Linked DNA regions of Homo sapiens: all the other regions are linked to region 3. The links are contacts of gene promoters, found by promoter capture Hi-C in blood cells and fetal thymus (Javierre and others, 2016). All regions are on one chromosome and are shown on one strand. Each heading gives the region's core, a stretch centred on a gene start or on the middle of the fragment in contact. The rest is flanking DNA. Distances are from core to core; before and after follow the strand shown.

Region 1 (3,977 bases), core at 94-2,593, 610 kb before region 3:
AGCTTTCCCAGAAGAAGAAACGGTCCTCCAGCTCCCCAGTGCCCACCACCCAACAGGTGAACTTGACCTGTGTATTTAGGACTCAAAATGCTGCAAACCCCAGTACTTAACTCTGGATTTCAGTTTGACAGATTACTGAAAGGGGAAATGTGTGTGTCCATGAGTCTGTTTGTCTTTGTCTCTCTTATGTACAGGCGTCTTCTGAGCTATGGGTACCTAAGGTCACCCCAGAGACAAGACATGCTTTAAAAGACCAGCAGTCCTTCTTCAAAGACATCCTCTGGAGCAGGTTGCTCCTTAGGACCAGGTGTAGGCCTCCAGGGATCAGCACTGTCAGGAGTTGCTCAAGGGAGCCAAGAATGACTCTGGGCAAAAGGCCGACAAGCCCTGACAGGTTCCAGGTTGACAGGTACTATCTACCAGAGAGGCACATGGAGAAATACGCAAGGCCAACAAAGCGGGCAGGATGGGTTTTTTTTAAGGCAATATAAGCAAAAGACCAAAAACAATCAAGTAAGGCCACCTGGGGGTGATCTACAGAAGTAACCCAAGAAGCCACCAAATCCTAACCAGGAATTCTCCCTCCAGGACAGACTAGGGGATTATTTCTCAGGAAACACATGTGCTTTGCTGCAACCTCCAAAATCTGGCTTGCTGACTAATACATGGGAAAAATGCTCCATGATCCTTTTTTCTCCTGCCTGCTCCAACATGCGTGTGTGAAGGAAAACAAAAGGTTGAATTGGAATGGATTGCCTGTAGCCCTGTTCCTAACCAAAGACAGCAAATGAGAAATCCTTCAACAGCGAGAGCCCCAATGAGGCCGGGTGCGGTGGCTCATATCTGTAATCCCAGCACTTTGGGAGGTAGAGGCGGGCAGATCTCTTGAGTCCAGGAGTCTGAGACCAGCCTGGGCAACATGGCAAAACCCCATCTCTACAAAAAGTACCAAAATTAGCTAGGTATGGTGGCGCACATCTGGAGTTTCAGCTACTCAAGAGGCTGAGGTAGGAGAATCGCCTGAGCCCGGGAGGTTGAGGCTGCAGTGAGCCAAGATCACACTACCACACTCCAGCCTGGGCAACAGAGCAAGATCCTGTCTCAACAACAACAACAACAAAAAAACAAAAAAACAAAAAAAAAAAAACAGAGCACCAATGGAAGAGTCATTGTGAGACAGGCTTGGAGCCTCAGAAGGAATGCTGGCAAGGCTGATGGCTGATAAGGTCAAGCTTCACCACCACCTAATCCAAGAACTCAGGGTGGATCAGCACTTTCTCACCAGAGATAACGCTGCCTCTTTCCTAGCCACCCAGAAAGACTTTCAATGTAGACTTTGAGTAACTCCTAGGAACTAGGATAATAAACAAAGTCATATTCCTGCTGCTACAAGGGCCATTCACACTCTGTCTAGCCCAGTGGATTTCAACCCTGGGGATCACCTGGGAAGCTTAAAAAAAAAAGCCTGGTCCCACCCAAGGCCAGTTCTATCAAAATCTCTTGGGGTGAGGTCCAAGCAGCAAGTTTTTAAAGATTCTAGCTTGCAGCCAGGTCTGAGAACTATGGGTATAGACCAGGAATTAGCAAACTTTTTCTCTAATGGGCCAGACCCTAAATATTTTTGACTTTGTGGGCCATACAATCTGTCTCAAATACTCAATTCTGCCACTGTAGCTGCTACAGACAATAGGTTACTAAATGGACATGGCTGTGTTCCAATAAAACTTTATTTACAAACACCCACAGTGGATAGGATCCAGCCCACAGGCTTGACATAGTTTGCAGACCTGAGGTTTAGACTATTATCCTACCCCATGCAAGAATTTCTTCCAAAAGATCCTGCAAATGGTCATATATAGTTCATCTGAATGTGCCTGGGGCTAGAGTTTCTCAGGAAGAATAAAGGAATAACTCCAGGAAAAAATGTGTCTGAGATAATGAACGTATTCAGTGTTAAAAGGCAGGCAAATAGAAGAACATGTTGCAATAAAGAAAGTAGAAGAAAACTCTACAAAATGGAGCTGTAGAAAAAGTAGCAGGTGTGTCTCAGAGAGAATGAGTCCATTGTTGAGCAGTTTCACCCCAGTGTTCTACGAAGCATAAATGAGGCCTGGGCATCACCAGGCAGCTAGCACAGAAGCTCATTGAAATCAAGCAGGGTTGGGTTCCTACTCTCATGCAGACAAGTGTGCAAAGCATCCAGCCAAATATCTGAATTTGCTTTCAGGTCAAGGCACGGATGTTCTTAGATACCAGATGGCCCAATACTGACACAAAATCTTTCCTCTCCAATGCATGAAGTTTTCTTCTGGTGATTTCCATAGCTCGAGGGAAATGTGTGAGGGGTATAGGTGAGATGCACTTCTCCTCCCTACCTTCTGCTCCCACATTAGAAATGGCTGTTCCAGTTAATTCCTCTGTTCACACATTATTGCCTCATCTTTCCCAACAAGCAACCATTAGGAATAAAACGTGTTCCCGGCTGGGCGCAGTGGCTCACGCCTGTAATCCCAGCACTTTGGGAGGCTGAGGCAGGCAGATCACGAGGTCAAGAGATAGGGACCATCCTGGCCAACATGGTGAAACCCTGTTACTAAAAATACAAAAATTAGCTGGGCATGGTGGCATGCGCCAGTAGTCCCAGCTGCTCAGGAGGCTGAGGCAGGAGAATTGCTTTAACCCGGGACACAGAGGCTGCAGTGAGCCAAGATCGCGCCACTGCACTCCAGCTTGGGGACAGAGCGAGACTCCGTCTCGAAAAACAAAACAAAACAAAACAAACAAACAACAAAAAAAACATGTTCCCGCCATTTAGTATATATCAACAGCAGGTGCTAACTGTCGAAAAATAAATGAACAGTTTAGTGATCTTACATGGGCCATGGAAAAGTCAAGATCTAGAAAGTGCTCTGCCTTCCACTTGCCCCCTTTATTGCTGCAAAATTTCCCGACAACTTGTCAATTTATAACTAGTCTTTATTTTCAGATAACCTGAAAGTTGGATGGGGGAGGGGTTCCACAAACACCATCAGCTGTTCTGAGTGGCCTCTTCCATGTCTAGGAAACCGTACAGAGCACTGAAGGCCACCAACACAAACAGATCTGGGCTTAAATCCAACTTCTACCATCTGCTGGGTATGTAATCCTGAAGAAATAATTTAGCCTCCCTGATATTCAGTTTCTCATGTGAACAATAAAGAAAACAGCACGTGCTTGACAACACTGTGATCACAACAATGCACAGAAAACACCAGCTCATTGGATATCGGTTCCTTTCACTTCAAGTCATTACCCATGAAGAAAGAAGTGGGAATTAAGTCCAGATGTTATTCTGTTCACAGTATCAGAAAAAGGAGACGCCTCCTGCTTTAGATGACTGGCACTGAGGGAGATCTGGGCAGTGAGACCCGTGTGGCTACACAGCCAACGTGTGCTATGGAAACTGCCACCAGCAGCTCCCAACATGGGCCCAGGCCCTCTGGCATGGCTGTAGAAGCCATCTGTTAGATCATGGTCAAGCCAACAAAATCACTGCATTGGACTTTATCCTGTGGCCAGAAAGAATTCATCTGAGTCCACTCTAGCAGGGTTTTCCTTGTTGTACCTGGTAGTTCGGGTTAAATGGCAGATTGAGAGAGCTTGGTGGGAGCCCTAGGGACAGCAGCAAGTTGATAAAACACTTGGATCAACTCCTAGATTCCGTTCAGAGTTGGCTTTTTCCCTGATGAGCTGACAGGCCCCAGGAAGACCCACTGGCATCTCCAGCCCTTTCACGAAAACAGGCAGGCCCACTTTTGGCCTCGAAGGCAACCTACACAAGTGGAGGGAGAGATCGTATCCACACAGAGACATCCAGCAGGTCAGGAAATGGAATCTGGTGAGCACCTTAGAACCTCAAGTCAACAACAGAGTCATCAGCTTCCTCTACTGAAGGAACAGATACCACTTCAAAAAGAGCCTCTTGAGTGTATCTTTTT
Region 2 (3,744 bases), core at 1,003-3,502, 610 kb after region 3:
ATCAAGTGTGAAATTCATCAAAATAATTGGAAATCGTGAAAACCTATACCATGATGTGATCATGGCTCCCAGTTCCATGGACTGTCTTTGTCAATAAAAGCAAGACTGATTCTAATTACCTCTTATATTTTGTCGTGCTATTTCATTGTCTGTAATGATTCCATTTATTGATAACCATTAATATTTATTGAACTTTTATGATGCTTAATGCTGTATATTTGCTTAGGTGATAATATAATACTGCATGTGTAAATTGATAAAATGTAATGTACAGTGCCATAAGTGAGTAAAATAGTGTTGAAGAGGAACCTGCCTAGAAAAACAATGTGCAGGGCTGTGCTGTTCAATATGGTAACCACCCTTATGGTTATTTAAATTTAAATATAAATTAATTACCATTAAGTTAAATAAAAGATTCAGTCCCTAAGATGCATCATCCACATTTCAAGTGCTCCACAGCCACATATGGCTAGTGGCTACTTCACTGAACAGTGCAGGTAGAGAATTTTCCATTATCATGGGAAGTTCTGTTAAACAATGTGTGGCTAGGAGGTTTTGTGAACTGTAGCCTTAATAGAAAGAAACATTATGCTTCATTGTTTAAAAAAGAAAGTTAAACTGTATTAGCAGGTTGGTAGGCAGAGAACTCATGGTTTCTACTGTACAGATTAGTTAGAGCCTCCTTACTATGAAGGTTGAAGCTGAAGTGGAATAAAGACCTGATGGGCATTTGTGGAGAAGATTTCAGCCCCAGTAGAGACGGATGGTAGAATCTCCCAGGTAGACCTTTCTGGCTTCACAGCTCCACTAATGACCATGATAAAAATCCCTTTCCAAGAAGAATGTACTTCCACTTATACACCTAGCACCTTCAATGAAATAAGTCCATGAATTCCTGAACTATGCATCTCAACTCTCTAAGAATTCTTCCAATTCCCAAATTCTATGAAATAAAAATGTTTTTGATCATACAAAATCTACATCTAAAAAGAATTTGGGACAACAATACATATATAACCAATGTGCACATGGCTTGAAAACATTGTCTTCTCCTAGGGAAGTTAAAACCAAAGATAGGCTGGGCACAGTGGCTCACATCTGTAATCCCAGCACTTTGGGAGGCCGAGGCAGGTGGCTCATCTGAGGTCTGGAGCTCAAGACCAGCCTGGCCAACATGGTGAAACCCCATCTCTACTAAAAATAAAAAATATTAGCTGGGTGTGATGGTGGGTGCCTGTAATCCTAGCTACTCGGGAGGCGGAGGCAGGAGAATCGCTTGAACCAGGGAGGCGGAGGTTGCAGTGAGCCACGATAGCACCATTGCACTCCAGACTGGGCAACAAGAGCGAAACTCCATCTCAAAACAAACAAACAAAAAACAAAGATAGTGTGGACAGTGTTGTGACCTGGGAAAGCTTATTTTCATGGTAACCTCAAAGTAAAATGATTAATTCCTGGAACATAGAATAGATATGAAATAACATTCATGTTTGTAAAGGTGTTTTCTTGAATTATAACCATAATACCTGTTTAGGGTTATCCTAATGACTGACTTCATACTTTAAGTCCTTTATCTCTTTCTAACCACATTCTCAACAAGGTATTATGTTGAATAATAACTTCTTTTTCTTTCGTTGAAAACGTGGTCTGATTTCCTGTCTTTGACTTAAACTCCCATAATGTAAAAAATCCAAATCAGGTACTAAGAAAATGCACAAATGAAAAATGTTTTAATATTGTTATGGGAATTTGTTATACATCCAAATCATATTATATCATCAGAAATCATAATAATACCATTATACTGTGCAATTATGTGCTTCAGTGGCAACTTATCATGTGTTTACTATAATTATACCATTCGACTAATTACAGCAATCATGCCATTTAGTGGCTGAATTCTTAGCTCTGAATTCCATTGATTGGGTGGACTTTATAATTCTATGAGGTTTTGTGCCTTGAATTTGATGAATGTAGAACTCGAATTTTGTGTTGCTAGCTTAAAAAAAATTCCAGCAATAATTTCGAGGTTTGGGGATGAATATGTTTATGATTTATCAAAATGTCCGAAGGAGGGCAAATTGCTGTTTTTCCATCGCAAGCCTGGGCCCTAAAGCGGAGTGGGCTATTAGACTAAGTCCTTGTCTGTAGAGCAGAGACTCATGTCTGCATCACTCAGGAGCCAAAGGGTTAAAGTGAACTGACAGGTTGCTGAACTGAAAAGAGAAGTAGTTTGGTTACTTAGTAAAATTAGTCAATCAGTTTGACTTTTTTCATTCCATTGATCACTTGCTAAACTAAATGGATTAGATGGACAAATTTTATTTGTTAGCACTGTACAGCTAGGAGTCCATAGAAGGACACTCAACAATCGTCAACACATCCTGTAAATAGAGGTTCAGCTACAAAAATTTGTCCACATAACCTGTATTATCAAATGTCTATTTCATGCAATGCACTATGTTACCTTCTGAGAAAGGAACAAAGCCATTTCAGACACAAGTCCCATATTCACCCAGCATAACCTATCAAATAATCTTCTCATGTTTGTGAGGCTGGGAAAAGGTAGCCTTCCAAAGGAAAATTACATAAAGCGCATCTTAAATTTCCTAATCAACTTGAGTGTTACTCTCCATACTTACCTCTGAGAAGGAAGCTAAGAAATCATTTGGGTGGGGTTAGATCTTCTAATCCTTCTGTTGGGTAACAGCTTCAGCAGGGTAGAGTGAAGTGAATCTTGCCAGTGTTTTCGGGCCTGGATCTGCAATTTGAACTGTTAGCCTTTGGAAAACTCACTAAATGTTCAAGTCTCAATTTTCTTATCTCTAATAAGGTAATGAAAGGTAGCTACTCTGTAGGACTTTTGTGAGGTTTAAGGGAGAATACCAACACTTTTTAAAATCTATGTATCCAAATATATAGAACTTTTACCCTCTGGGTTTCAAGAGGAAATACTTTAATAAGAAATTCACGTTCGTCCCCTGAGAAAGATCTTAGATGTGATGCAACTGTTTGCAGGGACATGAATATCTACAACTTTCTAGAGCATTTCCCATTAGATTAATATATTGAAATAAGCAAAAGCTTTGACATTAACGGCTCTGCTGAGTTGTCTCTCTTTTTCAAAATCAGAATAACAGGATTAGATGATCACATAAAACTGCTTGGGGGTGAGTCCCGGATTCTGGTGGGTTCTTCCACTCAGGCTTGGTGAAGCGCTTCCGGGTCTCCACTGGCTGCAGACCCTGGTGCGAGGAGGACACTGAGGCCCAGAGAGGTTAAGTGACTCGGCCAAGGTCAAACAGCTAGTAAGTAGTGGAGCCAGGACTCAAACCCAGTCTAGGAACCATGTCCACTTTGTTTCCCTCACTCTTCCTTTGTGGGACTGAGACACTGTGGTTTAATCTGGATCGACCTTGTATGGGAGAGACAGAGCTGCAGCAGCAGGAACAGCAGCATCAGACCTGGCTCGAAAGCATCACAGAGAAAGACAACAATCTGGTTCCTATTGGCAAGCCAGCCTCAGAGCACTATGATGATGAGGAAGAGGAGGATGATGAAGACAATGAGGATAGTGAAGAGGACTTAGAGGATGATGAGGACATGCAGGACATGGACAAGATGAATGACTACAATGGGTCACCTGATGACGGAGAGGTCAATGAGGTGGACATGAAGGAAACGAACAGGATGTGGACCAGTGAATGATCTAGGTAGATAAGGCAGGGTGCCCTCAGGGAGATT
Region 3 (3,639 bases), core at 890-3,389:
AAGGTGAAAAAAAATCTTCTAACTAAGATGATGTTGTACAGAACCAGTGGTACTGATATAATTGATGGGAAAACTCCAGAAATTGAAACATTCACTTCTAAGTATGTCTACAATAAAGTTATTTTTGCAAACTGTTTCCTCTTTAAAACCACTGACAGAGAGAAGTTCTCTGAGGTAAAGGGGCAAAATGCCTGAGAGTTGGGGAGCGAGGGTGGCAGCACTACACCACAAATCTCCATATTTGCCCTACAGGTGTGTGTTCTACTAAGGGCTGGAATCGCCTTAAGGGCCGGTGATCCAGTGATGAACAACTTTTGTTGTTTGCATTAGTTACCCAGCTTGGTGGCTTTCCACAAAAATGTGCAGCACATTTGAGACAGGACTACCCTTTAAAATAAACGCGTCATACTCAACGTTCTTCTGTATTTTATTTTTCCTAATTACATCTTTTCTAGGAAGGACTTGTAAACTTTTCATAAAATCGTCAAGTGCCACTTCCAACACCAAAGCCACTGCCTGGAACCTTAGCAGGGAGGTTGCCTTCCTTCCCCCTCGCCTTCCAGGTTAAACCAGGGACTGGGCGATGTTTCAGGAGAGGAAAACATCCAAAAGGCAGGTCAAACCACACATGACAATGCAAAGCAGAAACAGTTGCAAATACAATAGAGGGTAGGTTTTTGTTTCTTTTTAGGTTTTGCTCCAGAACATCACTGACTCGAGAATAAACGTCAGTCCCTACCTTTGTGGAACGTCCAACGCAGCTGGCTGGGGGAACACGAGGCCTTGCAGGGAGCGAGCCCCGGCCCCGGTCTGACGGAACACAGGCGACGCACGTGAAGTCCAGGCCCTATCCCAGCGCAGGCGGGCCTCCAGCGACCCACAGTTGTCACATATCCGGCCAGCGCCGACTCCCGAAGGCGCACTCCCCATACTCCACTCCGAGCACCGGTCCCATCGTTAGGGAAGGTCCCCCTGGATAGCAAGGCCGGGGCCCAGGATCTGCGAGACCCACCCCACCCGCCCCGTCAGAGCCCAGGAGCAGCAACAGGTCTGCGCTCTCCCCGGGCGGCGCTCTGCAGACCCTCGACGGGCCAAGGGTGCCCCCAGCCCAGCCGTGCGCTCAGGCCGGGGAGATGGGCGGAGGACTGGGGCTCCCGACTTCCTTGACAGTTTCTGCGCGTCAGAAACTGAGCAGACACGGGGCCCGCGCCACCTCGCCCGCCGCTTGCCCCACTCCGCGAGGCTGCGCTTCCACCCGGGTCCGGGAGGGCCGGCCCGCGTCCCGGGTATGAATGGGGCTCTTCTCCCCAACAGCGGGGAAATCCCGCCACCGCCCTCCACCCCGGTCCCCGGAGCCCGCGGTGGCGCAGGTTTGCCCAGCAAGCCCCTGAATCGGCAGACAAAGGGGCACCGGAGGAAAAGCCGAGCGCTTCCCTAAACTTACCGGCCACTTCCCCCTCCCCAAAACAAAGGAGCCCCCCGCCGACCTCCGTCTCTCCCCGCAAGGCGCGCCGGCACTTCGGGGAGCGGCCACCTCGGGGTATTGTTCAGGCTCCTGGGAGCGCGCCGCACCCCAGTCCGAGCGCCGCGGGGACAGTTGGCGACCTGCACCTACAGGAGTTCCAGGGGCGGGTGGAGCGTTCGGGCGCCCCGAGCCGCCGGCCGGACCCTGGAGGGTCAGCGCGGGACCCGCCTCCCCGCAGAAGTTTGCGGACCCCGCGCCCGGCCCGCCGAGCCCTGCGCACTCACCTCGTCGCGAGCAGCGCAACTTGTGGCGGCGCCGCGCGCCCGGCCGCGCTCCGAACCTCCCTCCAGCCGGCAGCCTCCGAGTCCCGGCCGTGCGGCGGCCGAAGAGGGCCCGGCGCCCCGGAGCAGCCGCGCGCCGCCCCCGGGCCGCCCCCGCCCCGCCGCCGCCGAGTCCCGGAGAGAGCGCGGGCGCTGGAAAGTTTCGGTGGCGAATGGCGGCCTGAGGGCGCTGCGGCGGCGGCGGGGCGGGGGCGCTGGCGGCTCCTCGCTCCCAAGCGCGGAGTGGGGGCGCTGAGGCGGGCGCGGCGGCGGCGGCGGCGGCAGCGGGAGAGGGCGGGACAGCGGGAGGGACTGGCACGGACAGTGACCTCCACGGGGAGCTGCCGCGAGCGCGCGGACCCCAGCCAGGAGGACCGCCAGGGGTCCGCCCCCGCCGCCGGCCCCTCCCTCACGGCCGTGGGAGGGGACCCGGCGTACCACCCGGCCCCGCCCCTGCGCCCCGGGGGAGCCGCGTCCCGAACCAGCCCCTCCCCTACGAGGGTAGGGACTCCGGCCCTGCCCCTCCCCCGCGGCTCCTAGTGGGGACCCGCGTCCCAACCCAGCCCCTGTCCCACGGTCGGGGGACCAGCGTCCCTACCAAGCCCGCCCCGCTCCCCCACGCCTAGGGTGGGTGAGGGGAACCCGGGCCTCTCCCTAGTTGCTCTGGTCCCGGTCCCTTCCCCGTGGCCTCCGTGGGACTGAGAGGACCCCAGGGCTACCCCCATCACATCCCAAACCCAGCCTTTCCACGACTGCCTCGAGGGGACGGGAACCTCGGCCACCCCCTCAGTTTCTAGGGGGCAGGGGAACCTCGATCACTGCTAAAGTGTTACCCTCCCCCACCCCAAAAAGGAAGCCACCCGGCTGCCCCAACAGAACCCCCTGCCACCTGCCCGATGGTGAATCTCCCTCAAAATCGGCGTCTTAGAAGACACCCCAGTAGTCTTTACCCCAGCTCAAAAAGTGGGGGTTCCGGCGGAGCCTCGACCTTTGCAAAACACCTCCCAAGAAGAGCCAGAAATGCTTAGGGACAAACTCAGACACACAGGCATAGGCGCCAGGAACTCGGGTGTGGGGGCTGAGGAGGTTGGGGGGACCTGGGCACTCGGGCCTCATCACTCCCACCCCAACCCCCCAGGCATCAGCCCTCTGGCCCTTGCAAAGTGCTTTATGTTGCAATGGCTTACACGGCCTGGCCCCGGTGTACCTAAGTCCCCAGCGCTCCTTCCTCCCCTCCACGTAGGCTACTCCCAACCACTCGCAGCCTTAATTCAGTTAAACAGATCTCCACTCCCCCTCCCCAGCACCTCTGGGGTCAGCCTCGTTGAATATTTTTCAAATATTCTTGCCCCTTCCTTTACTATATAATGAGCTTCGTGCTAAGAGCCCGGTACACTCAGCAATCTAAACTATAACCTCACTTGCTCTTCCTCGAACTCTAGACCATTTGTTGTTCTGGTTGTAGGGGGAGGGGGACCTAAGGTGAGGTTTTTGTTTTTTTGTTTTTGTTTTTGTTTTTCTGAGGAGTCTCGCTCTGTCGCCCAAGCTGGAGTGCAGTGGCGCGCTGTCGGCTCATTGCAACCTCCACCACCCTGGTTCAAGCAATTCCCCTGCCTCAGCCTCCCGAGTAGCTGGGATTACAGGCGCATGCCACCACGCCCAGCTAATTTTTTTTGTATTTTTAGTAGAGACGGGGTTTCACCATATTGGCCAGACTGGTCTGAACTCCTGACCTCAGGCAATCCGCCGGCCTCGGCCTCCCAAAGTGCTGGGATTACAGGCGTGAGCCACCGTGCCCGGCCGGAGGTGAGTTTTTAAGAGGCCGGTCCTCCACCAAAACGGCGGACCTCAAAA
Region 4 (3,820 bases), core at 859-3,358, 620 kb after region 3:
GTAGCACTTGTACATAACACATGTATTATCTCACATATATTGTCTCACAGTTCTGTAAGAGAGGAGTTTGATGTGGATCTCAGTAAAATCAATGTATTGGCTGAGCTAAGCTCTTTTCTAAAGACTCTAGAGAAGAATTCATTTTCAGGCTTGTGCAAGTGGGTAGCAGAATTCAGTTCTTTGATGAGGTCTGAGGCCTCCGTCTCCTTATTGACTATCAGACCCGGTCATTCTCAGCTTCTAGAGGCCACACTCATTCCCTGGCTCATGGTCCCTTCCATCTTCAAAGCCAGCAACGGTAAGGTGTGTCCTTTTCATCTTTCATCTCTCTGACTCTCTTCTGCTGCATCTTTGTGACCCCAGCTAGGAAAGGTTCTCTGCTTTTTAAGGGCTCACGTGATTAATTTGGGCCCATCCAATAATCCAGGATAATCCCCCCATCTCAAGATCCTTAATTTAACCACGTCTGCAAAGTCCCTTTGGTCATGTAACCTAGTGTATTCCTAGGTTCCAGGAATTAGGACCTGGACATATTTGGAGCTATTATTCTGCTGACCACAAACCACAATGCGTCTTGTATGAACTAAAGGCCTCCAAAGCCCCAGTGTGGAGCCAGAACAGCAGGCGGTGAAAGCCACTATACACAACAGTGAAACAGCCAGTGTTTGTGCGGGTTGGCTTTGGAAAGAGGTTTTTGACCTTGTGATAGGGAGAAATACTGTCACTCTTTTAAACACACGGTAGACACACCTGTGCATATGGCCATAAAGAGGATTTCTGCATATTGAAAGAATGCATGCTAATGCTACAAATAAACAAATTTGGACTGCTCTACATCTGGCATTTTATGGGCGCCTGTTAACAGTTGATGGAATTGGCTCTAGTCTGTAGTGAAAATGCCTTACTGGCTTTCTAGTGAAGCCCCTCAGCAAGTTATTCCCTAACTTTCACTTCATTGAACAACAACAAAATACTAATTTTCTGGAGGGAGATTGGGACATATTTCCAGACAATTGAACATTCTTTTATGACCCTTTCATTAAATAATTGGCATAAAAATGTAGCTCCTTGTTGGGTCAGTGGAGTGTAATGAAGTTCTAGAATCTAATAATCTTTTGGAAATACTACCGTTATTCCCATTTTACAGAAAATACCACTGTTTTAATGAGCTGTATCATTTTTTCTTCAATATTGGTGTGGTGGATGGGGCTCCATGGGGTAGCATATTTAGTTTAAAGGCTATTTACTATGACTCCATAAGAACCAAAGAAAATGGAAGAAGAAATATCTGTTTGATAGCGGCAGGAGCTGATTCCTATGAGGAAAACTGGACTGTAAATTTCCACATACCTGGCTTTACGGGCTATGCACTAGAAACATGAAAGCATTTTTTATAACTCAAATTCGCAAATAGCATACATTATTTTACACGAGGTATATTAGTTATATGAATGAGTCAGCTATTACCTCCTTAAGTGAAATACTTTGAATAAATGACTACAACACTTATTGAAAGCCTCCATCTACTTAAACCTGCTTAAATTCACTTTTTCAATCATTTAAGCACATTACAATCGAACACCATTTCAACTGAGTATTTCAAATGGCACTGGCTATTTCAGAAGACAAGCTGTGATTTTCAGCTGAATTGAGCAAGAGGCCAAAAGTAAGAAAATCCTGCCTTTCAACAATTTCCCCAGTCTTCAGAGAGTCATTTTCATTTTCATTGAAAATCCTTCAAAAAATTTTACAGGACCAAAAATAATATTATTTACATTATGCAGCTTAAAAAATGTAACAATAGACTATCCATCCCACCTCATTATAAGAAAATTTAAGCGGGGATTATTGCATTTCTATAGGTACCATGACTTGGTCAAGTGACTAAATTGTTCACCCAACAGAGTGCAGGCATAAAAGTTCTCAGCACCTGCTATTGAGAAATGTGACTACTGAATTCTTCAGATGAAAGATAATCAATACTGACACCTATTTTTATTGCATTTGCATATGTGATGCAAATCTCTCTGATCACGTGCTGGCCAGGCTGCCATGAAATTTAAACCTCTCAGTTCTGTGTGGGTTTCCTCTCTGCTTATGGTTAGAAATGCATTTTCCTTTCAACCCCTGACTTCTCAGGCTGATTGTTTTCTCTCATTTTCCCTACAGGCAGGACTGTCCCTTATAATCATGTACATGTGCATATGTATACATATCTACATATATGAATGTATAAATTCAATATATATTTTTAAAATAGCTGGGCATGGTGGCGCATGCCTGGTCCCAGCTACTTGGGAGGCTACAGTGGCAGAATCACTTGAGACCAGGAGTTGGAGGCTGCAGTGAGCTATGATCATGTCACTGAACTACAGCCTGGGTGACAGAGCCAGACCCCCATCTCAGAAAAAAGTAATGGTACAACAAATACATATAATGTCTTATCAGAAAGAACTCATCTGAGAAATATTCATATTTAAGCAGTCTTCTTTAGGTGCTTGGGATTAAATTATTCATACTTGAATAATGTATGGATCTCATTTGAAGTTTAAAAAAGAATTTCCTCATTGAACTTCAGTCCAGCATTCAATTACTTTTATTGTAGAGAAAAATTAGGTGAACACCTAAGCATTGCCACTAAGCGTCCCTTTCCAAGCAGTGGGATGCAGCCCTGAATCTTTGCATCTCTTATAAATTGCAAGTACAAGTAGGTGTGCAAACTCTGCCTTGGCCAGACAGGTTCTATTGACTTCCCTCTCCACCTTTGGAAAAGCCAGCTTTGCTGCCATTTTGTGATTCAATTATTTTGTTCCAGGTACGTTTGTGCTGTTTTGACTTTTCTGGTGAAAGGGTTCTAACATCTGTCTGGTTCCCTCATTCATTAATGACTCAAATAAAGTCATGAACACATGTTAACTTTTATATATGTACGCAGTCATGATTTTACCCTTTCCGAAAATTATCTTTTAACAGCACTATATTTAAATGTGTATAAATATATAAGTAGGTAGGTATATTTTATGTGTGTGCCATATGTTTCTAACCTATATAAGCCATAAAAGTAAACATCCAAATTAAGCATAAACCAAATTCTAAAGTGCGTAAATTTTTTAAAATTTTATTAACGAGTTTATAATAGTGTGTTAGGCTTAAATTTAAAACAATTTTGTGTATTTAGAGGGTGCATAACCCATAAAATTAAATAAAGCTGACAACATTAATTTCAAGTGATGAAGTTGCCACAATTGGGTTGGGGAGTAAGAAGATGATTTTTCGTGATTACAGTTGTACTGCCATTGACTTGGCTTTGACTTTGAGCATCATGAACCATCATTTGAACGGTAGTCTCTGCCATGATTACATTTTCTTTCTGAACGGTGAATGAACTCAATCATCAATGTAGTATTTGAAGGCATAATCAATGTAAGAGGTCACCGTGAGATAAATTAACAAATTAAAAATCTTAATTTAAGGAAGTGTTTTTCCATGTGCTTTTGAAATGACTACACTTTCTGCCAATGAAGGCTTGCATGAGTAAGGATCAGATCCGGCAGGACTTCTGCTTGCTGCAGGGAGACAGGTGCAGGGTGCTGCCAGGTCGGCATGCCCATATCACTCCATCTGCTGAGATGACTGAAGCCTAGTCTGGCTTGTCCTATTAAAGTTGCTGCAAAGTCTTCATTTGTACATTACATAATGACATCATTAGCCTTCTGTTGGTGCATAGCCATTACTTATGTATTAAATTGGCCTCTGTTCTTTTACATTACAGTGCAAGACAACTGAAGAACTATATTATTACTCTATGGCACTGAACAAA
Region 5 (3,576 bases), core at 227-2,726, 660 kb after region 3:
ATAAGTAGTGATGAGGTACTGTTCCCATACCCCTAAATGTATCCATAGGGCCCTGGTGTGATTAATTAGATTCCTGGATGCATTTCTTCCCATCTACAGTCCTTGTCAGAGGATAGATAGTTACCTTTACAATACTAAAGAATACATGTGATTAAACAAGTATGATATTTAAAAGCTTATAAGAAGAGTTGACTGAGTGAATATGTGAACATATTATAATATGTAAACTTTCTCAATATAGAGTAGAAGTGGGAGGCCAGACTCTGGAAACAGACAGCCTGGTTCCAAATCTACCCTCTGACCCAAACTAAGATCAACCCTGCTATCTCACTGTGCCTCTATAGCCCTCTCTGTAAAATGGGGATAATGGCAGTACCTACCTAGTAGACTTAAGATGAGGATTTAATAAATTCGTTCATAAAGCACTTGGAGCAGGTCTTGTCATGTGGCTAGCAATCTATACATTTTTACTCAATAAATAGAATGCAAAACTTTGGGCTCCTGTTGATTTCCTCGCTCTGGATACTTCCCCCGGGATATACCAAATTGCTATTCCAGGTGTAAACATTTCCAGAAACATCTCTGATACCTTTTCTACATTAGGAATTTCCACATCAATGGCTTTCAGAGGTCATCCACATAACCCTGGCTTTACACAAGGATATTGCAAGGATTTCACAGGAGCCAATTGTTTGAAAGAAATCAATTTCCAGAGCACCTCTTTCCTAACAAATGCAAACTGTTCTTTTCAGGGGAACTTCAGGGGAACTCTTACTGTGATTCAGTCAATAATAATCAATAATAATTATTGATTATTAATCACAATAATTATAGATTATTGATTATAATATTATTTATTATTGATAATTATTAATACCAAATTAATATCAAATCAATTATAAATTGATTAGTAATAATAATCAATAAAAATAACTTGATAATCAATGCCAGCACAGAGGAAATCCAGCTCATCACATTCTCCAGCCACTTCCAATTCACCAGTCTGGGATTGCTTGAAGCTTCAATGGAGCCTGTTGTCCTTTATAATAACATTAATAGCACCTCTTCACTCTCAAGGACAGCCTGTTAAATTTTAAGCTTAGGAGATTTTAGCAAGCACTCCCTAAGATCATACCCAGTTTTGAGAATGTTTACAGTTGTTTTTCTGGAGAGACATCTAAAACGTTCACGAGATTCTCAAGAGAGTCTATGGGCCCAAGAAGATTGAAGACCACTATTTTAGAGGAACAGTGGACCCTTCTCCACTCCAAGGCCAACTCCTTCATTCTCTCATTTAGACCCTCTCTCCTACATACTCAAACTTTGGTGTTTCCACTCAAGTCCTTCAGCCTACATCTATGCTCAAGTCTGAATCTTCATCTGTAAAATATTTTCCCTTTAGCAACCACCCTACCTTCCTTCTGTTCTTCCTGGCTCTACTTCCTCAAACTCTAAGTACTTTTCTACAAATTATGGTCTGTTTTTTGCCCCTGGCACTCCAGCAAGACCCTGATGATGCTCAGTGTCTAATGCAGTGTACACATTCTAACTCTGATATAAACTCTGTGTGTGTGTGCATGACTTGATATCATTTGGATAGCAATTTATGGCAGAAACATCCTCTGGTCTGACTCTGAGTCTTTTTACAATGGATAACTGAAACTATTACTTGAAGTTCTTCCTTCCTTTGGACTTGATGACATCATTCTTCACTTTTTCTTTTCCTAACTCAGGGTCTTCTTTCTCAACCTGTTCTGTGGCTTCTCCTCTCCACGCAGCAATTCACTTTATAAATATTATTTAAAGAATGAATGGATGGGGATTGGTTTTGGTGAGACACGGTTCCAAGCTTGGCTCTGCCTCTGACTGGCTGCCTGACTTTGAGCGCCTTCCTGGGCCTGTCTGCATTCAGTCTCCTTGCCAATATCATGGGGAGACTGAGATGATAACATATTGACTGTCCAGCACAGAGTAGATGCTCAATAAATTAGTTGATCTTTCTCCCTGCAGGCAAATATTGTTTCTCTTAATGACACCCAGTGTTTTGATGACCATTGTGATGTTGCAAACTCTTAAACACATATCTGTTTGAGGTCTCTTTACAACTGGAGACTTATTTTTCCCTTTGCTTACCAGGCATCTACATCTGAACCTCCCATGGGCACCCCAAAGGTCACAAGTGCGGGTGGCCCTGTACCTGTCCTCTGAGACTTCCTTTTACAGTCTCTCCAGCTACCCACTCTTCCAAACCAGCCACCTCGAAGTCATTCTGTAAACCTTCCATTTGGTGGCTAAACCCTTCTCACATGTAATTGGTAAAAAATTCCTTTTGATTTGACCTTCCTCTTTGCTCTCAGATCTCCACCTCCACAGACACTGCTACAGTCCAGACCTCCACTATTTCCATGTGAGAGTGAATTTTGATCTATATGGTATCCCAGCCTCTAGTCTCCCAGCCTCTAGTCTCATCCTGTTTCATCTGACGGTCCCCACTGCTGCAGAAAGTAGCAGTTGCCAATATCATGGGGGGATTGATACAACACATCGAATATCCAGCACAGAGTAGATGCTCAAGAAGTTAGTTGATCTTTCTCCCTGCAGACGAATATTGTTTGTCTTATTGCCTCCCAGCGTTGTGATGACCATCGTGATGTGGCAAACCTCCTAGAAGATGTCGCATCACCTTCCTAGAAAGTACCCCTTTACTTCTCTCCATGTGTAAAATCTTTCAGTTAATCTCCATTATCTAGAGCAAGGTTGCTCACCCTAGCACTGTCGACATTTGGGACAGAGTCTTTGCTGTAGGGACTTTGTACAGTGTAGGGTGCTTAGTGGATCCCTGGTCTCCACCTGCCAGATGCCAGTAGCCTGCCCCCCTCCCCAGTTGTAACAGCAAAAACTAGACCTGGCCAAATATCCCAGGGAGGGGGCACAAAGTTGCCCCTGATTGAGAACCACTGACGTGCAAAAATAAAACCTATATTATCTCTTGGCTTATACCCCAAGATATTGTGCCCAAATATCTTCAACTTTATCTCCTAAAACTATAACTCACACAGACTCTGGAATCTCTTATAGTTCTACAAAAGATTTACTCTTTCCAAGTATACCCCACCTTTGATGACTCCCAGACTAAAGTGCCCCATTTTTCTACTTTTTGTCCCCATTTTCTACTGGAATACCTTTTTGTCCTTATCCTTCCAAACTAATCTCAGATAATTTCTCCTGTTGTAAAATCTTCCCTGTCAACACTAAAGATAATTTGTCCTTCTTCCTTATGGATCCTACATCACTTACTATCTATTGTAGCACTTGTCACTGTAATTTCTTCTTTTCACAAATGTTTTAACCTGACCACTACTACCACCTACTTACAACTTTTTGAGTTTAGAAAAGAGATTCTATATACTTAGCATGTAGTACAATGCCCAACACATACTAGGAGTCTTGACAGCTATTAGATAGACGAATAAGGGAATGACTGAATGAGTGAATGAATGAATGACGTCACATCCTTCTCTCCCCGGCATGGAAATATGTTGCATGTTCTGCATGCAGAGTGAGTTGCCGGCTTCA
Region 6 (3,713 bases), core at 15-2,514, 630 kb before region 3:
CACAATCACAGCTCACTGCAGCCTCAACCCCTTGGGCTCAAGCGATCCTCCTGCCTCAGCCTCCCAAGTAGCTGGGACTACAGGCATGAGCCACCACGCCCAGGTGGTTGCCCAGCCATGTTGCCCAGACTGGTCTTCAACTCATGGGCTCAAGCAATCTGGCCACCTCTGGCCACCTCAGCCTCCCAAAGTGCTAGGATTACAAGCATGAGCCACTGTGCCTGGCCACAATTATACATGTTTAAACGGCCTCATCCAATGCTCCTCTCCAGCTTCCTCAGTATAAATATATTTAAGTGGCAGTGCCACAGCTCCAAAAGCTGTCCACAGTGGAGATGAGCTACTTGCCATTTCAGTCCCCTCTTTATTAGTGACCCTGCAATCAACTCATCAAGATCAGTAAACATCATCTCTCAAACCTCTTCTCAAAGCTGTATGCACCTCTCTCTAAGCTTTGTTTCTGTACTCTTCTTTGAGAATTAAATGGACATTTTAGTGAAAAGAAAAGACAGCCAAATGGATCCAAGAGACTCCTGCTTCAGAGTTCCTATGCAGCGCTACAGCGTGTGCAACCCTGTGGCTGCAAATCTCCAGTCTCAAAAAGCACATCTGACATACAGCAATATCCACCCCACAAAACAGACTCAACACAAGCACAAAGTGAGGTAGGCAGACTTCTAAGAAGGCCCCTAATGACCAACACCTCCTGGGATTCTCCCCGTGTGAAATTCCCTCCCCCTGAGAATAAACTGGGTCTATAACTTGACTCTAACCAATAGAACAGAACAAAGGTGATGGGAAGTCATTTCTGTGAATAGGTTACAAAAGACTGTGACTTCCATCTTGCTAGCAGACTCTCAGCTGGTACACTTTGACGAAGCAGGCTGCCGTGCTGGAGCAGCCCATGTGGCAAGGAACTGAAGCCCTCAGTCCAGCAACCTGTGAGGAACTGAATCCTGCCAACAATCACATGAGCTTAAGAGTGGCCCCTCCCCCAGGTGAGCTTTTGGATGAGACCACAGTCCTGGCTGACACCTTGATTGCAGGGAAGTTCCTGAGAGACCCTGGAGCAGAAGACCCAGCCCAGTCTCCTGGACCACATCAAGCATGAGATAATAAAGGAGTGTTGTTGTAAGAGGCTAGGTTTTGGGGAAATCTGTTATGCAGCAATGGTTAGCTAATACAGTCATAGCCTTTTGATCTATTTTTCTATAACATGATGTGGTTTCTTAGAAAGTACAGGGGTTTAGGGATGAGAAATGTTTCAAAACCAGACCTGCCTCTCCTCAGCTACAAGACCTTAGGTAACCTGGCATCTCGGTCTCCTGCACATCACACAGGATGGGAACAACTACTTAAACTGAGATAACAGCTATGAGATTGCTGACCTAGGGTCAGCCCCGGTAAACTTCAGGAGCTTATCAACAATGAGCAGTGACTGCTCAAGTAGCATAACCAGCCACCACTCCTCACCTGACATTTTTAGAAGGGTTGACCTAAATCACTGGAGAACCTTCTATCTTAACTGTTTCTCTCAAACTAAATTCTAATTCTAACCTTACAATAAGCAGCAATGAATTATTCACGAATTCAATGAGTCTTACACTTGTTTCCTTCTCTCGCTCCAAAATCTTTACGCAAAAATGCCAAACATTTTTGAATTACAGATTCTCCTCTGTGTGTTACAGATGGCGACCATATTCTTTCATCCAAAGAAGATGCCTAGTCAAAAACGGCCAAGTGTACGTTTGGAACAACGCAGGCAAATTTGAAAATAGGACTGTTCCAGGACACCCAAGACATAAAGGGCCGTGATTTCCTACATTATACTCCACTCGAAGAGGCACTAGTTGCTAAGATTTCAAAATATTAATTAGCTAATTATTTAAAACCCAGAGTTTTCCATCAATTGTTTTTTCCTCCTTTTGTTGCTTTCCTTTTATTTATTTAATTTCGGGGGAGGGGTGGCACTGTGCATTCCATTGATACCTCATCTTTACTTAATAATCCTTAAAAAAAAAAAAAGAAGCTCTTTAAACTGTTTTTCCATTTGGTAACAAATTAATGTCAAGCTTCACTCAATGATATTACAATACTAGCGTCTTTGAATATCCACCATCCTGCTTCAAATGGTGATTTTCCCAACTTTGTTTTTGTGGCTAACTCAAGGCTTCGCTAATTAACAAAGGAGGCATTATGACATTCTTCCAAGTCTCAAACAAAAATGACTTTTAGTTCAATTCAATTTCCTGACATTCTTTTAGAAGAGTAAGAAACAGCAATAAAGTAACACCCAAGGTGGCACAGCTATAAAGCCTTTGGAAATCAGTGGTCTAAGGCAGGAATCAGTAACTATGGCCCTGGGGCCAAATCCAGCCCACTGGCTGTTCCGTAAGTGAACGTTTGAGCAGCTCGAGGCCCCAGTCTTACATGCTTGCAAGGCATCTCTGTTATGGCTGCATGTACACTACAATGACAGGGTGGGGCAGTTCCAGCAGAACTACCTGCAAAGCCTAAAATAGTGACTATATTTACTATCTGGCCCTTCACAGAAAAAGCGTGGGGACTCATGCTCTAAAAAGTGATATGTCTGTCAAAAGAACAGTGAAACTCAACTCTCACAAGGAGTATGTCATTTATAAGAGTCCAAATCATAAGGGCAGCAGTAATAAGCAATTCAATTGTATCACACAGCTGGATGTGAGACACAACACTTTTTCTTCAAACTTAATGGCACAAAAGTGAAGGCATTTCTTAAGTGAACATGGAAAATTACACCAAACCAGTGATGGCAACACTGAAGCAGCCCTCCCCTCTCCCGGTGCATTTCTCCCCCTGGGCGCGCATATACCTCCCCGATGATATCAGTCTGGGAGCCGGCATCGCAGAACTGCTGGGGTACACCAGCATCGCCAGGCACGCCTACATGGTGAGGGAAGTCCACTAGAGAGTCGGTAACGGAGCAGCTGTTCTTGAAGCTATCGGTCAGCTTGGCCAGGCTCTGGAACACAATGAGACAAGCTCTTTGAACGGAGATGGTGATGTGTCTCTTCCCTCCAGAAGTGGTTCTCTCATTTGTTTTAGGTCTGCTGCATTATTTATTACTGAACAGTTGCCCCACCTCACCCCCATGCTCGTTAGATTTCACATAAATGCCCTTCATCACAGGCACCTCTAATAAAATTCTTAGTCATTTAAATCACATCGCAACTAAGTCCCCCTGGCAGCATGTGAATAAAATAGAGGACAATTATGGTACCATTTTTACTGGTTCTTAAACCTTCATGTTTCCTAAAGAAAAAAATAAGTATTTCTATCGAAAATGTAAATGAGCCTGACAGAGATGAATGCTGCCTTGAGATTGTTACAGAGGAAAAACAGGGAAGGGGAAAACAGCTCCCAGACAATGCTTACGTATTTCTTTTTCAGTTCTTTGAGTTGCTGTTTTAGCTTACGTATTTTTATAAACCTCATTTCTCAGTCATAATTCTACATGGTCAAAAGTAATCTCATATGTATGTTGGTTTGCCAAAAATTAGAGTTAGTATGCATTCTGGCACATGAAATCTCTCTGTGTGGCAGTTTTAAGCAGAAATCAGAATTCTGATTTTTTTTTTTTTTTTTTTTTTTTTTGAGAGAGGGTCTCACTCTATCACTCAGGCTGGAGTGCAGTGGCACAATCATAGCTCACCGTAGCCTCGACCTCCTTGGCT
Region 7 (4,042 bases), core at 210-2,709, 720 kb after region 3:
GACCAGTGTCATTGCAAGCATGGGTTGTTTAAACCACGGAGTTCTCATCTTCTCCTCATGTGTCAGTTCCCTGTCTTGGACTCTTTACCTTCTCATTTTTTCTGACAGTGACATATTGTTTCACTAGGTACTTGAGACAGCTCTACAAAAGTCTAGGGCTATTTTATCCCCAAGGCTAACACTTTTCAGTCATCTGAACACTATCTTTTGGTTCCTTATTATTCCTAAGAAAAACACTCAATTACTAAGCCTTATTCTTCTCTGACTTTCCATCCAGAAAGAATACAAAACAAACAAACAAACAAACCATTGCTTTCTGACCCATTCTTTTAACAAATGATGCATTTAATATTGCAACAGAAGCTTAGGACCCTGTGTTGCTGCTTAAGTGACCATGCAGTGTCTGGCACTGTTATTTTGACTTCATTATATTTTTAATTTTCAGGTACACTGAGTTAGATAAATTGTAACTCCTGGTCCGTGACATTTGCAACATTGTTCCAGGTATAGCCCATTTTACTTATTTAGCTAACTATTTAATTAGGTATTGTTAATAGCGTAATGGACACCAGAAAATCCCACTGCCACTAACAAAAGCTAGGCCTTATACAATCAACAAATCCTCCTGTTTTACCCACTATTATCTTATAATCTATGTCTACGATGATCGCTTCTTCCCCTTTTATATAAATTTATTGCATATACTTGTGTTTTTTTTTTTTTTTTGAGACAGAGTCTCCCTCTGTCACCCAGCCTGGGGTGCAGTGGCACGATCTCTGCTCACTGCAACCTTTGCCTCCTGGGTTTAAGCTATTCTCCTGCCTCAGCCTCCTGAGTAGTTGGTACTACAGTGCATGCCACCATGCCCGGCTAATTTTTCTATTTTTGTAGACAGGGTTTTGCCATGTTGGCCAGGCTGGTCTCGAACTCCTGACCTCAAGTGATCCACCCACCTTGGCCTCCCAAAGTGCTGGGATTACAGGCATGAGCCATGGCGCCTGCCCTATTGCATATATTTGCTACTAATAAGTATTTTTTTTATTCTAGTTACCTTTAACTTTATAAAGAGATAGTATATCTTACCATGTGTAGTCTGTTGGCATTTTTTTCACATACTGTTAAGGTTTTTGTTTAACATATGCATTTCTGTAGTTAATTTTAACAGCTGTACAATATTTCAGTATGTGAATGTGCAAGAGTTTATGCAGCTGTTGTCCTATCGATGGACACTTTATTGGTTTCAGGATTTTGATAACGTGAGCTGTGCTGCTGTAAAGTTGCTTGGTCAAGACTTTGATAATATATATGCGGTAGCTTCAGTTGGGTTGCACCAGGAGTGAAAATGAGGGATCGTCATCTATGCGGGTGGTTGGTTTTTTGGTGGTGATGTCCGACTCTTTTCCAGAGTCATTGCATTAATCGATACTCGCACCAGCAAAGTATCAAAGATGCTTTGAAGCCAGGTGCAGCGGTTCATGCCTGTAGTCCCAGCTACTCAGAAGGCTGAGACAGGAAGATCGCTTGAATCCAGGAGTTTGAGACCAGCACGGGCAATAGTAATACCCCATCTCTAATATCTTAAAAATAAAAGATGCTGTAGAGCCATACACTTTCAAAGAAGTTAGCATGGTCAGACTTCTAAATTGCAGCTGAATTAGCATGGTCAGACTTTTATTAAATTGTTGCCAAAGTAAAAAATAACAGAGAGTGTGGGCTTATTTTATATTTTTTCCAATCACCAATGATGCTAAACATGTCTTTTAGAAACACGTTTCTTCCTCTGTCCATGCCTGTTTATAAGATTTTCTCTTTTTTTTTTTTGTTCTGTTTGTGCTCTTTTCTTTTCATGTGTAGGAATTAATTCCATATTCTTTATTCCAACACTTTGTCTGGTGTGTATTGTGAAGGCATTTTCTACCACATTGTAATTAGTCTCTTTTCTTTCTTTAAGATGTCTTTGGTAAACAATATGCCTTAATTTTAACATGACCAAGTGGATTGAAATTTTCTCTCTCTCTGTTTTTTGTTTGTTTGTTTGTTTTGTTTTGTTTTGTTTTTTTGATGGAGTCTTGCTCTGTCACCAGGCTGGAGTGCAGTGGCATGATCTCGGCTCACTACAACCTCCACCTCCCTGGTTCAAGCAATTCCCCTGCCTCAGCTTCCTGGATAGCTGGGATTACAGGCACACGCCACCATGCCCGGCTAATTTTTTTTTTTTTTTTTTTTTTTTTTTTTTTTTTGTATTTTTAGTAGAGACGGGGTTTCACCATGTTCGCCAGACTGGTCTCGAACTCCTGACCTCAGGCAATCCTCCCGCCTCGGCCTCCCAAAGTGCTGAGATTACAGATGTGAGCCACTGCGCCCGGCCTCTCTATCTTTTTTTAGTTAATGCATTTTGTGCTTTACTTAAGAAGTATCTCTCTAATACTAAATTCATCTTTGATCTGACACCTGATTTGTCTCTCAGGTAATGGTTTGAGGATTTCCTTCCTTGCTTCGCTGGTCCTCTTCAGGCTTTGCTGGAGGATAATTCATTATTGCCATCTTAAGCTTTGTCTTCGAAGGTGTCTTGTCTATGAGGGAACTTCAGGCTCCAGTGTCAACTCTGACTTTGGAAGCAAGTTCTGGGGCTTTCTCCCAGGGTAGCCCTTTGGTGCCCCCTGCTGGCAAGTGTAACCAGGACAGCCAGCATTAAATCAGCCAAACTACTAATACATTCTGGGAAGCAGAGAGAATGTGGTCTGATGAATTTTGGGTTTAGGCCTCCATAATTTCAGATAACGTTTATGCTATTCGTAAATTCTTATATCATACTTCTGAACACCTAGAGTAAAAATTACATATTGAATACAACAATTAAGAAGTTGTAAGAAAAAAAGAGGCCGCAAATTGAGGAGTGTCGAGTATTTCCAGTTCCAGGCAAATAATTTGTTGAGCGCCTATCAGAAATAGCCATCAGCCATAAGAAGTGGAGATGGACATGGACATGTAAACAAAGACTTGATAAGGCGTGGCGAACATAATAAAAATGAACAGCATGAAGAAAATACTCAGGAGGTGTCATCTGAGAATGTTAGAAAAGGCTGCCCATAGGACAATACAGTTACCTAAGGTGGGGACAATAATACATTTCTCAGTGCACCAGGGTTGGCAGGCCAAGAGGAGAGACGACCATTTCAGGGGAGAGAGCAACATCCACCACTGGCATGGGCATGGAGTGACAGCGTGAAGGCGCCAGCTGTTTAGTTCTTCCGTAGCGTGGCTGACACTGATGGGTCTGGGGAAAGATGAACTTTGAGGAGGGAAGACATTATAAAGCAACTCTTACTGCATGATAAACAACTGTCACATCAGCAGGGGGGATCCAGCCATGATTTTTAAAGAGGGCAACAATAATAGCATATCCTAATTTTAGAAAGACGTGATAAGAGCTAACACTTCCGGTGGTGTTCACCGATATTAACTCAGTGAATACTTATGACACCACAAAGTTGGTATGTTTTTCCCATTTTCCATTTGAGAACACTGAGCTACAGAGAACATATATAATATCCCCAAGTCCACACTTCTAAAAGCTTCCACAGGGTCGACTGGGGTTCATACCCAGGCAGTCTTTTGCAGGCTCTATGCTTTCAGCAGCTTTTATTTAATTGACCGTCTTGGGTACTTTTGCAATAGGCCAGGCACGCTTCCTGCACTGGGCAATGGGGGCTGGGTTCCTGAGGCAGGATTGTGCGTGTGTCTCGCCCTTGGAAACGCCCAACAGGGAGTTGGTCTTACGTAGCGTAGTGAAAGCTCAGGGCAGAGGTGGTTGAGAGAGACACATGCAAATCTTACAGCTCTGCAGAGCAACTAGGGAAAGGCCCCCAAGGAGCCACTCGTAGACACCGCCTCTTTGCATAGCTGCTTGACCCAAAGCAGAGTCTTCATCTCTGGGAAGGAAACTCAGGGTCTGTGGTGGGCCCCGGTCAAAAATAAATGACCCACACCTGGGCCAGAGCCCCTCACCCAAGTGGACACCAAGTCAGGACTGGCAAACGAG

The links. The method cuts DNA at HindIII sites, captures the fragments that hold promoters and counts their contacts. A CHiCAGO score of 5 or more calls a contact.
Region 1: a fragment that was not itself captured here is called in contact with the fragment with the promoter of TBL1X in region 3 in 1 of 17 cell types (total CD8 T cells); the score reaches 6.2 in total CD8 T cells.
Region 2: a fragment that was not itself captured here is called in contact with the fragment with the promoter of TBL1X in region 3 in 7 of 17 cell types (neutrophils, non-activated CD4 T cells, total B cells and 4 more); the score reaches 8.3 in neutrophils.
Region 4: a fragment that was not itself captured here is called in contact with the fragment with the promoter of TBL1X in region 3 in 2 of 17 cell types (naive B cells and total B cells); the score reaches 5.5 in naive B cells.
Region 5: a fragment that was not itself captured here is called in contact with the fragment with the promoter of TBL1X in region 3 in 1 of 17 cell types (total CD4 T cells); the score reaches 5.4 in total CD4 T cells.
Region 6: a fragment that was not itself captured here is called in contact with the fragment with the promoter of TBL1X in region 3 in 6 of 17 cell types (non-activated CD4 T cells, naive CD4 T cells, activated CD4 T cells and 3 more); the score reaches 10.0 in non-activated CD4 T cells.
Region 7: a fragment that was not itself captured here is called in contact with the fragment with the promoter of TBL1X in region 3 in 5 of 17 cell types (naive CD8 T cells, naive B cells, activated CD4 T cells and 2 more); the score reaches 8.5 in naive CD8 T cells.

What each region holds. Positions count from the first base shown.
Region 1 is chrX:10,071,151-10,075,127 of GRCh38, reverse strand. All of the region lies in intron 4 of WWC3 (WWC family member 3), which reads right to left. Among named protein-coding and RNA genes, the nearest start is that of WWC3, 58 kb to the right of the region's middle. The HindIII fragment of the contact is 218 bases long and covers 1,235-1,452 here.
Region 2 is chrX:8,856,631-8,860,374 of GRCh38, reverse strand. It overlaps the pseudogene ANAPC15P1. Among named protein-coding and RNA genes, the nearest start is that of FAM9A, 57 kb to the right of the region's middle. The HindIII fragment of the contact is 1,669 bases long and covers 1,418-3,086 here.
Region 3 is chrX:9,463,558-9,467,196 of GRCh38, reverse strand. It overlaps TBL1X (transducin beta like 1 X-linked), which reads right to left and starts at 2,139. Exons shown (of 18, transcript NM_005647.4): 1 at 1,750-2,139. RefSeq lists silencers at 1,164-1,313, 1,614-1,753, 1,874-2,453 and enhancers at 2,684-2,883, 2,711-3,539. The HindIII fragment of the contact is 11,363 bases long and covers 1-3,639 here.
Region 4 is chrX:8,838,883-8,842,702 of GRCh38, reverse strand. No RefSeq gene overlaps it. Among named protein-coding and RNA genes, the nearest start is that of FAM9A, 39 kb to the right of the region's middle. The HindIII fragment of the contact is 7,511 bases long and covers 1-3,820 here.
Region 5 is chrX:8,806,111-8,809,686 of GRCh38, reverse strand. No RefSeq gene overlaps it. Among named protein-coding and RNA genes, the nearest start is that of FAM9A, 6.5 kb to the right of the region's middle. The HindIII fragment of the contact is 751 bases long and covers 1,101-1,851 here.
Region 6 is chrX:10,093,420-10,097,132 of GRCh38, reverse strand. It overlaps WWC3 (WWC family member 3), which reads right to left. Exons shown (of 24, transcript NM_015691.5): 8 at 2,852-3,001. Among named protein-coding and RNA genes, the nearest start is that of CLCN4, 62 kb to the left of the region's middle. The HindIII fragment of the contact is 1,620 bases long and covers 455-2,074 here.
Region 7 is chrX:8,741,945-8,745,986 of GRCh38, reverse strand. No RefSeq gene overlaps it. Among named protein-coding and RNA genes, the nearest start is that of ANOS1, 12 kb to the right of the region's middle. The HindIII fragment of the contact is 2,187 bases long and covers 366-2,552 here.